Regions from separate parts of the Homo sapiens genome. Here region 1 is linked to region 2. The links are contacts of gene promoters, found by promoter capture Hi-C in blood cells and fetal thymus (Javierre and others, 2016). All regions are on one chromosome and are shown on one strand. Each heading gives the region's core, a stretch centred on a gene start or on the middle of the fragment in contact. The rest is flanking DNA. Distances are from core to core; before and after follow the strand shown.

The links. Contacts are between HindIII fragments. The CHiCAGO score rates a contact against its expected background, and 5 or more counts as called.
Region 1: a contact is called between a fragment that was not itself captured here and the fragment with the promoter of KHDRBS1 in region 2, in 3 of 17 cell types (fetal thymus, activated CD4 T cells and naive CD4 T cells). The highest score is 7.0, in fetal thymus.

The regions. Positions count from the first base shown.
Region 1 is chr1:31,788,016-31,793,034 of GRCh38, reverse strand. It overlaps SPOCD1 (SPOC domain containing 1), which reads left to right. Exons shown (of 16, transcript NM_144569.7): 14 at 268-357; 15 at 634-820; 16 at 1,744-2,613. The coding sequence ends at 2,432. Among named protein-coding and RNA genes, the nearest start is that of SPOCD1, 25 kb to the left of the region's middle. RefSeq lists silencers at 3,643-3,932, 4,263-4,312 and an enhancer at 4,098-4,873. The HindIII fragment of the contact is 2,297 bases long and covers 1,021-3,317 here.
Region 2 is chr1:32,011,583-32,016,549 of GRCh38, reverse strand. KHDRBS1 (KH RNA binding domain containing, signal transduction associated 1) reads right to left here and starts at 2,682. Exons shown (of 9, transcript NM_006559.3): 1 at 2,173-2,682. The coding sequence starts at 2,554. RefSeq lists silencers at 1,674-1,783, 2,264-2,473 and an enhancer at 1,877-2,447. The HindIII fragment of the contact is 9,365 bases long and covers 1-4,419 here.

The DNA.
Region 1 (5,019 bases), core at 920-3,419, 220 kb after region 2:
GTTGAGTGACTTAATGATCAGCTAAAGTGTCGGATGAGAGCAGAGGATAGAGGAGGGAGGGAGGGGCTTTGGAGAAGTTGTAGATTAGCCAGTACAGGCTGCAGACCTCCATGGGGCAATTAGAGCTTTCTGGGCAGCCACTGAGGGTCCTGGAACACTGCCTGCCCATATTTGCCACAGGCTGCAGCCTTCCAGGTGGCTGGGAATGCGTCCACCCTGAGTGGGTGGGAAGCTGGGGAGCTGACTGGCCATCCTTCCTGCCCCTAGGCTCTGCCCACCGTGATCCGCTCGGCAGGCTGCATCCCCTCCAACATTGTCTGGGACCTTCTGGCCAGCATCTGCCCAGCCAAGGCCAAGGTACCTGCCCACTCTTGGGCACCCCCTCTTTTCCTAGTACCTTACTCCCACCTCCCTCTCCACTTCTAGAGCAGAGGCCTGGCTTGGATATCTGGGTCTAGTTCCCAGAGTGACTGCAGACTCACTGTGTGACCCTGGACAGGTCCCTCTGTTTCCTCCTCTGGAAGATGGAGACATACTTTCTCACGGGGTTCTCAGGGGTTTCAGGGAGCCCAGGGGTGTTGGCAGGAGCAGAGGATGACTGCGCTTACAGCTGCTCTCCTCCTGCCACCGCAGGACGTCTGCGTGGTCAGACTGTGCCCACATGGGGCCCGGGACACCCAGAACTGCCGCCTGCTCTACTCATACCTCAATGATAGGCAGCGCCACGGGCTGGCCTCTGTGGAGCACATGGGGATGGTCCTGCTGCCCCTGCCTGCCTTCCAGCCCCTGCCCACCAGGCTGCGCCCTTTGGGGGGCCCAGGTGAGTGCCTAGTCCCCATACCAGACCCTGCCTCTGCTCACTTGGTGACCAGACCAGGCACGGTTGACACAGTCACCCAGTAGAGGCAGGCACATCTCAGAAGGGAACTCCTCACCCAGCCAGGCAAATGTGAGTACAATGACAGTAATAGCTCACGCTTGGATATCATGAACTGCATGCCAGCCATTGTTCTAAAAGCTTTACCTAGATGAATTCTTGTAGTCTCATCACCCTATGAGAATGGTACTATTAGACTAGACTGTCCATCTCATAGAAGAAGAATCTGAGGGAGGAAGAAGGCAAATGACTTGTCCAAAGTCACACAGTCAGTCAACAGCAGAACTGGGCTTCACTCTGTTCACACGTTGTGTGAAGCACAACATGGCTTCAGAAACCTGGCCCCTAACCACCACACCACACTGCCTCTCAAGGTAGGCACCCCTGAAGAGAAACTCCAGGGACAGCCACATTTGACCCAGGCAGCAGGACAGAGTCAGGACCTACACACACTTGACTGTAAATGTCACCTCAGAGAGGAGGGAGGGATGTTTCGCCACAGCCACGGGGGGCCGAGCTCGGCCTCTGTGCATGGACACCCTCCACGGCGTGGCTCAGGAAAGCAGCGAGGTTGGCAGTGGGCGCTTTGCCCACTCCTGAGCAAAGCGCTTGGCCTTTTGGGGCTCCATGTCCTGAGACAATGAGGTAGACTTTGAGTCTGTAGAGTCTTCAGGTCAAACAATCCATACCCCAGCCTCAGCCAGATAAGCCTTGATCCCGCAGAGCTCAAATCTTCCGAGACAGCCCCACCTTCCTACTTACTTTTCCCAGCATCTCATGGGCCCCATCTCACTGTGAAGAAGCCCTTCCTGGGATGTAGGCTCCAGATCTGCTGCAGCTAAGCTGAACACAGTTCTTCCCCGCAGGCCTTTGGGCTCTTCCTGTCTCCCCTCTCCTTTCCCCAGGTCTGGAGGTCACTCACTCAAGTCTGTTGCTGGCTGTGCTGCTCCCCAAGGAAGGGCTTCCAGACACAGCAGGGTCCAGCCCCTGGTTGGGGAAGGTTCAAAAGATGGTCTCCTTCAACAGTAAGGTGGAGAAGAGATACTATCAGCCAGATGACAGGAGGCCGAATGTGCCCCTGAAGGGCACCCCTCCCCCAGGAGGTGCCTGGCAGCAGAGCCAGGGCAGGGGCAGTATAGCTCCAAGGGGAATCTCTGCTTGGCAGAGGCCCCCCAGAGGCAGGGGGAGGCTCTGGCCAGAGCCTGAAAACTGGCAGCATCCTGGGCGAGGGCAGTGGCCCCCAGAGCCAGGCTTGCGCCAGTCCCAGCATCCCTATTCAGTAGCACCAGCTGGTCATGGCTTTGGCCGTGGCCAGCACTTCCACAGGGACTCCTGTCCCCACCAAGCCCTGCTCCGGCACCTCGAATCCCTGGCGACCATGAGTCACCAGCTCCAAGCCTTACTGTGCCCCCAGACCAAGAGCTCCATCCCCCGCCCTCTGCAGCGTTTGTCTAGCGCCCTTGCAGCTCCAGAGCCCCCTGGCCCAGCCCGTGACTCCTCTTTGGGGCCTACAGATGAAGCTGGCTCTGAGTGTCCCTTCCCTAGAAAGGCCTGACCCTCCTTACCCACCAGAACAGGGGTTTTGATGCCCTCACTAGTGTTGAAGCCTGTTCCAGAGAGAGGTGGGACTGCAAGGAGAGGATGGTCAGCCCTACCCACCTGCCCTGTTTGAACTTCCTGTTTGACAATGTTTGCTGTTGATTTTTTGTTCAATAAAGAATTTGGTAAAATTGGGATTGCATCTGCTAGCTGGTCAGGAGAGCCCCTGGTCCTGGTCAGATGTGGGTTGAGTGGGTGTGTCAGTGAGTGTCTTGTGCACAAATGTGCAGCCTTGCTCATTGCTGGTCTGAGGTCCTGAACCATCACTGCGCCCCAGGGCACAGCTATTGCCACGGTGGTTTCTGGAAGCATTTTGCAAGTATTCTGAACCAGGAGGAAGAGGTGGTGGTGGGAAAGAAAGTAGGACCGAGGTTGGGGGTGGAGAGAGAAATGGACAGAGCCTTTTGGAGGGTCACAGACATCAGACATCAAGAGATTGCTAGAGAGGAAAAGATAAGCAAGTTGCAGTGGACTTTAAATTTTTCAGTTAATACTAAGATTTTTTTTTCCTTTGACTAGATGGGGAAGGATAGTACATACCTTCACCATATTCCCTCCGAGTCTCTGTCTATGTGCTTCTCAGGGATCTCTGTGCACTAGTGTGCCTGCAAGCATGTGAGAGTATCTGTGTGAGTTTCATGGCCTGCCTGTGTGTAGGTCTCTGTTGAGGAAGTCAGGAGATCCAGATTGGGTGACTCCTCTCTGTATCTCTTGCCAGATTCCAGAGACTGGTGTTAGAAAATGTCAAAGGTCTTAGCCTTGGTGGTGGGCATTCAGGGTGGGGTTGGAGACTGGTATTAGGGTTGGACGGTGCTGCCTTGCCTTGGGCCTAGAACAAGCTTCTAACAGCAACTGCAACTGTCAAGCGTTTCATGTGGGGTGTACCTCGAGAGAGCTGCATCTGCGGACTGATGGGGGAACCAGCTGCCAGGGCCAACCAACCCAGCGTGGGGAAAGGGGCCTGGCTTCCAGGAGAGAACCTCTCTAGAACCCCACCCTTCGCCCCGGGGCCAGAAGGGCCCTACCCGCTCTTTGCTCACCCCTTCGCAAAGTCCACCCATGTACAGGCCTCACCCTGGCCCCTGCTGGACTGGAAGGGGTGGGGCGATGGTCGGTTGGGGGAGCCCTTCTTCTCTGCCCCATGAGCTCTGCGGCTGCCCTACCCGCGGACGACAGCAGAGGGGGCCCTCGGCCTTGGGATGGAGGTCGGGGCTGGCAGGACCGGAGTCAAAGCGGGGGGTGGGGCGAGGTGCGGGAACTTAGCGCAAGGAGTTGGAAGCGGGGGCGGGGTAGGATGCGGGTGGGGTGCGGGTGAGGGGTAGGGAGAGGGGGCTGGACAGTTGAACCGGGAGAGGGAGCGGGGCTCCTTCGGGAACTTTTCCGGCTCGAAATGGCCTGGGAGCGCCGCAGCCTCCGCGCTCTATGCAAATGACGCAAATTACTATGCAAACCTACAGCTTGGTTCTGAGCCCACAGTTTGGGTGGTTTTCCTAATGCAGTTGGTATGGAGGGAAACGGGTGTGCACTCCCTCCCCTCCAGGTCCAGGGCTTCCTCCGGAGAGCCGCCAGAGCCGCTCTCCTGGAACACGCAGGCAAGAGCGAGCTCTGTACCCTGGGCAGGGATTTCCTTTGGGAGCTTCAGTTTTCCCTTCTGTAAATGGGGGTGATAACGCGGCTCTGTAACAGCTCGCCCGTGGAAGGGCTGTAGGTGGGCCCCGAAATCCTGCAGCCTGCTAAACATGACACCCTCCCCCACCCCCGCCACCTTTTGGCCCCAGTCCACGAGCCCCTTGCCCCTCTCTCTCTCGGCAGAAGCCTGGAGCGAGGATTAGGCATGACGTTGCTAGGGGGCGTGACTGACGGTTGCTAGGCTCCAGGGACGTTGCTATGCAACGCTGGGCGGGGCTTGTTGTTGCTAGGCCGGAGCCGGAATCGCCCGGGACCCGGAAGGGACACCTCGCGCCCTGGGTTTTAGTGGAAGGCGCCCCAGGCTACCAGGGATCGCGACACTGCTCTCCCGGTGACTTTCTTCGGGCCTGAGCTTCCCCCGGCTGGACGCAGTTTCTGAGGGTCCTTCCGGTTCACACTCTGCCACTCCGTGATCCTCTTGGCTCCGGAGTGAAGAACCCTGCGTCTTTGTGCACGTGTCTGTGCGCCTGCCTGTGAGGGGGGTGGGGGTGCAGAGCGGGTATCGCTTTTGGATTTCCATAGCAACTGCTCCTGTGTCACCCCATTGCTCCCAAAGGTTTGAGCGGTTGCTTGTACAAATTTACATATATCTGCATGTCATTAACATAGAGGCGGGGCCGGAACTTGTTTGGGCAACTATCCCTGGACGGTTCTCTTTGCTTCTTCCTCATCCCGTCTGATAGGCATGTGGGCTGCGCATGCGTGAGTGTTTAGCCTGTCCATGTTCTCAGATGTGGGGTGGATGAGTGAGCTGTGACAGTGACCATCAGTTCCCTTTCCCCACGTCCCCTTATTGAACCCTTAGCATGAATCCATCCAGATATCCCTGACTGAAGACACCCAGCTTCCCAAGC
Region 2 (4,967 bases), core at 1,433-3,932:
AACACTGTGATACTTTCAAATATACTTTTTTTTTTTTGGTCACCTATCATCCCAGATAGATTTTAATATTTTGTCCAACTATAGCTTAAAGTACAATTTGCAGCAGGCACTATAGTGAGGGAACGGGGAAGGTGTGTAGACTGACCAAAAATCCTGGTTACGATGCTTACTAATTTTGTTACCTTAGGCAAATTATTAATCTCTGGGTGTCTTGGTTTCCTCATCTGTATAAGTGAGGATAATAAAAGTAAGTTCTCATTTCATTTTATAGGTTAAATATTTAATGTAAAGTGCTCAGACCTCAAACATTAAGTGTTAGCTATATTTTTCTTCCGTGTGTTCTTTTCTTTTTTTTTTTTTTTTCCTTTTTTGAGATGGAGTTTAGCTCTTGTTGCCCAGGCTGGAGTGTAATGGCGCAATCTGGGCTCCCTGCAACCTTCGCTTCCCAGGTTCAAGTGATTTTCCTGCCTCAGCTTCCAAAGTAGCTGGGATCACAGGCGTGCGCCACCACGCGAAGCTAATTTTGTATTTTTAGTAGAGACGGGGTTTCACCATGTTGATCAGGCTGGTCTCCAACTCCTGACCTCGCGATCAGCCCGTCTCGGCCTCCCAAAGTGCTGGGATTACAGGCGTGAGCCACCGCGCCTGCCCCTTCCATGTGATCTTACCAGAGCTTAAATACTACTATTCTATCTTCTCAAAGTCTCACTTCCGCACAATGGGTTGTGACTTCACTGCAATCCCCTTGCAAGATAATTCAGAAATACCTTAAAAGCCAGGCTCAACATATATTAACACTTATCCATGCTAGAAAGAATTCATACATCCCAAACCAACAGTAACCTCAATCACATTTCTCCAATTTCAGTTGGGTTTAAAAAAAATACATCCAGAAAGCCCAAGTTAAAAATAAAGAGCACTCTCTTAGTTAAGCAGTGAGGGGAGACTGAAAATTAAAAGTAACTTTTAAGGATCAACAGTTTTTGACAGTTATCTTAAGAAAGCATAAAAGATGAACACCACACTGGTAAAGATCCCTTACCTTACAGTGTTGGGAGACAGAGAACAAAGGGAGGGAGATAATATTTTCATAATGAACTGTCCATTATATTAACCTTGCCAAAGAGTCCAACTACTCATTCAGTGTTGAAGGATGTGAATTTTTACTTGCTTAGTAAAATTTAGGTATCATAAAAAATATTAAAATAATATTTTAACTAGAAGCGAAAGTCAGACAGCTTTAGGGAAAAATCAGAGCGACTAGGTGATTGGCCAGTGCTGATGAGGAAAAGAGCGCTAACCTACAGAACAAAGACTCTCATTTCTAATCTATTTCACTACTGAATCAAAAATGTAAAAAACAGCAACAAAAAGGCCAAGCCTTTCAGTACAAGCATCATGCAACTTCTCTCAATTTCTGTCCATCTCGTTGGGAAACGTCATGTGAACTACGCGGGAGTCCCTATCGTCCCATTTCACTGTCTCTAGGGTTACTTCACTCCTTCAACGACAGTGAACACACGGTGTAAAATGGCTCAGTAGCAATTCTTATTTTATCAGCCTTAGTCGGAAATCTGATTCGGAAACCTCAAGCTCCGATCCACATAAATCGCTCCTTCCTCCCAGCAACTTAAGCTGCGGTTACCGCTAAGTCCGGCTCGGCCCCAGCGACAGCAAGGCACTGGACAGGGCATTCCAGCCTCACCCCACCTCACCTCGGCCCTTCCTCCCACGGTCCCTCCCCGCTCTGGCTGTCTTCACCTCCTACACCTCGGTCGAGGCGCTCATCGCCACCCGCGATCAAAAAGGGTTTCCCTTCAGGGAAAGGGGGAAATGAAGGTTCATTTCTGGAAGAATCTGCGCGCCCGGCAGCCGCAAGAGGAGGGAGGAGGGAAGAGTCGGGAAAGGGGCGGGGAGCTCAGCACTATCCATCAAGACATTAGCGCTAGGGGATCGCAAAGTCGCCTTCGGGCCTCCACTGCAGCCTAGAAATTCTCCCACGCACTCCGGGCTGAGGTGGGAATGTGGAATCCAGGCTCCCAAAAATGAGGATGAGACCGGAACTCCCGACTGCCTCGGTCCCGAGGGGGCGGGAAGCGAGAGGAACAAAGCCAGGGCCACTCATGCCCGGGATGGCCGGGCGACCCAGAGGGACACGGGAGGCCCCCTTACCTGCCGTCAGCAGCTGCATGGCGTGAGTGAAGGACGGGTCGAGCGAGTCCTTCTCGGCCATGAGTTCGGGCAGGTACTTGTTCTCTGGCTCCATCTTGACCGAGGCTGTGGCCGAGGGGGGCAGCAGCGGGGTCGGCGCTGGCCCGCCCACTGTCGCGTCGGGACCCGTGGCCGAGGGCGGCAGCAGCGGTGGCGGCTGCGTGGCGGGCGAGGCCCGGGCGCCCCCGCGGGATCCCCCTCCGCCTCCCCGGGACCGGTGAGGCAGCGGCGGCTGCCGAGACGGCGTCTGACGCACCGAGGGGTGGGCACCGGAGGGGTCCATGGAGCCGCTACGGCCCGAAGACCGGCTCATGCGCGCGGCGGGGTCGTCCCGGCGCTGCATCTGGGAGGATGTGCGATCCAAGGAGCGAGAAAGCGACGCGGCAGCGACGGAGGCCCGAGCGGCGGTTGGCGGGGGTGGCAGAGCGGGAGCGGTAGCGACCGAAGCCGACCCGAGCGACCCAGCGAGAGAGAGCACCGGAAATGAGGCGGCGCGCGTGCGCAGCCAGCCACCGGCACCGCCCTTGGGTTTCTCCGCGGAGAACAAAGTCCCCAGTCCGGCCACGGCGCCTGCGCACCGCCGCGGCGTCCGAGAAGTCGCCTCCCGACTCTGGCTTTCCCTCCGCTCCCGCCAGGCCAGAGCTTGATGCGCATGCGCGGGAGGCAGTGGGCTCCGTTCGTTTCGTTTTCCACGTGACTCGGCGCTAGCGGAACACGTGTCTCCTCCCCTTTCTGGCGTGGAGGGGGCGGGAGCTGTGGAATGTCTTTGTCTGCGCGCGGGCCCGCGGAGTGTGGGGCGGGAGACCTGTTACTCGCGGGGCCACGCCCTCTCCAACGGCTGAGCAGTGGAGGGAGGCTGTGGGGAGTGGGGTGGGGGGCGGTCACCGAAGTAAGGAAGTAAAAGACTGCCGAGAGGGTCACGGAAAGGGGAGGGAGAGAGAATTGAGACCGCCTGGGGAGGAAGACAGGAGTGAGACAGACTGCACAGGGAGAAAGGAAGGCTGAGGGAGAGTCTGATGCAGGGGGAAAGTTGGGGAAGGGAAACCTGGAGGGAGAAATTGAGGAAGGACGGCTTGGTGGAAACACTGAAGGCGATTGGAGTACTTGAACTAAGAGGGATGGTTCAGATCAGAGATCTGAAGTCTAGCAAAGAAAAGGGTCCCAGACATCAGGGAACACAAGAAGTTGTTTCCAGTATATATATTTCCAGTATTACATATATTCCAGTCGGTTCTAAAACGGTTGACATTGTTGGTACGGGAAATCTTAAGCAGCATTTTAGCTCTTTTTACATATTTTACTGCTTTTTCTGAATTGTGTTTGTTTTGTTTCGCCGTCATTATTGCCAATTAAGTGTTTCTTCCTTCAAAAAGTGAGGTAGAGACCAGATCCTTAATCCACGTTGGTTGCATCATTAGGATGGCTTCTTCTACCACTCCAGACTTGCTCAAAGAGACCCTTGCCACTACTCTCAAAGGCAAGGTACATAGTGGACAGTCGCCTACGACGTTCTCCACATCCTGGTGTGCTATATGCAAGTGGAGCCTTAGGTCCCTACTTGTCCCATAAGCCATCAAAAGCCTGGTGCCCTCTCTAACTTTCCCTTCCCTCCGCAGATTATTTTCTTCTTCCATTTAAAGCACTCACTCCCATCTCTTTTCCTTCTGGATTAGTTCTCCTAATGAGCCCACACTTTTCAAAAGTCTTTGGGGACCGGTGCGGTGGCTTATGCCTGTAATCCCAGCACTTTGGGAGGCCTAGGTGGGAGGATTACTTGAGGCTAGGAGTTCGAGAGCAGCCTGGACAATATAATGAGACCTCATCTCTACAATAAAAAAAGTTTCCGCCCGGCTTGGTGGCTCATGCCTGTGATCCCAACACTTTGGGAGGCCGAGGTGGGCAAATCACCTGAGGCCAGGAGTTCGAGACCAACTTGGCCAACATGATGAAACCCCATCTTTACTAAAAATATAAAAATTAGCCGGGTGTGGTGGTGCATACCTGTAATCCCAGCTACTTGGGAGGCTGAGGCAGGAGAATTGCTTGAACCAGGGACGCGGAGGCTGCCGTGAGCCGAGATCACGCCACTGCACTCCAGCCTGGGCAACAGAGCGAGACTACGTCTCAAAAAAAAAAAAAAAGGAAAAAAAGGTTTATTTGGAAATTGTCTTCTGAGTGCCTGGAAACTTGATTTTTGGATGTGAAGCTTAGAACCCTTTAACTAGAGAACCTAAAGGCCTTCTTTAAGGGGTTAAGGGAGAGGATTTCCAAATTACCCACAGAAATGAAAACAAAACACGTATCTACATAAATTATATATATATAATATAAAATATAGGCCAGATGCGATGGCTCATGCTTGTAATCCCAGCACTTTGGGAAACCGAGGCGGGCAGATCACAAGGTCAAGAGATCGAGACCATCCTGGCCAACATTGTGAAACCCCGTCTCTACTAAAAATACAAAAATTAGCTGGGTGTGGTGGTGTGCCTGTAGTCCCAGCTACTCAGGAGGCTGAGGCAGAAGAATCGCTTGAACCCAGGAGGCGGAGGTTGCAGTGAGCTGAGATTGCAGCACTGCACTCCAGCCTGGGGGACAGTGCGAGACTCTGTCTTGGGAAAAAAAAGAAAGAAAGAAAGAAATTAGCTGAGTGTGGTGGCGTGCACCTGTTGTCCCCAGCTACTTGAGAGACTGAGGTGGGAAGATTGCTGCTTGAGCCTGGGAAATTGAGACTACAGTGAGCAACGACTGCCCCA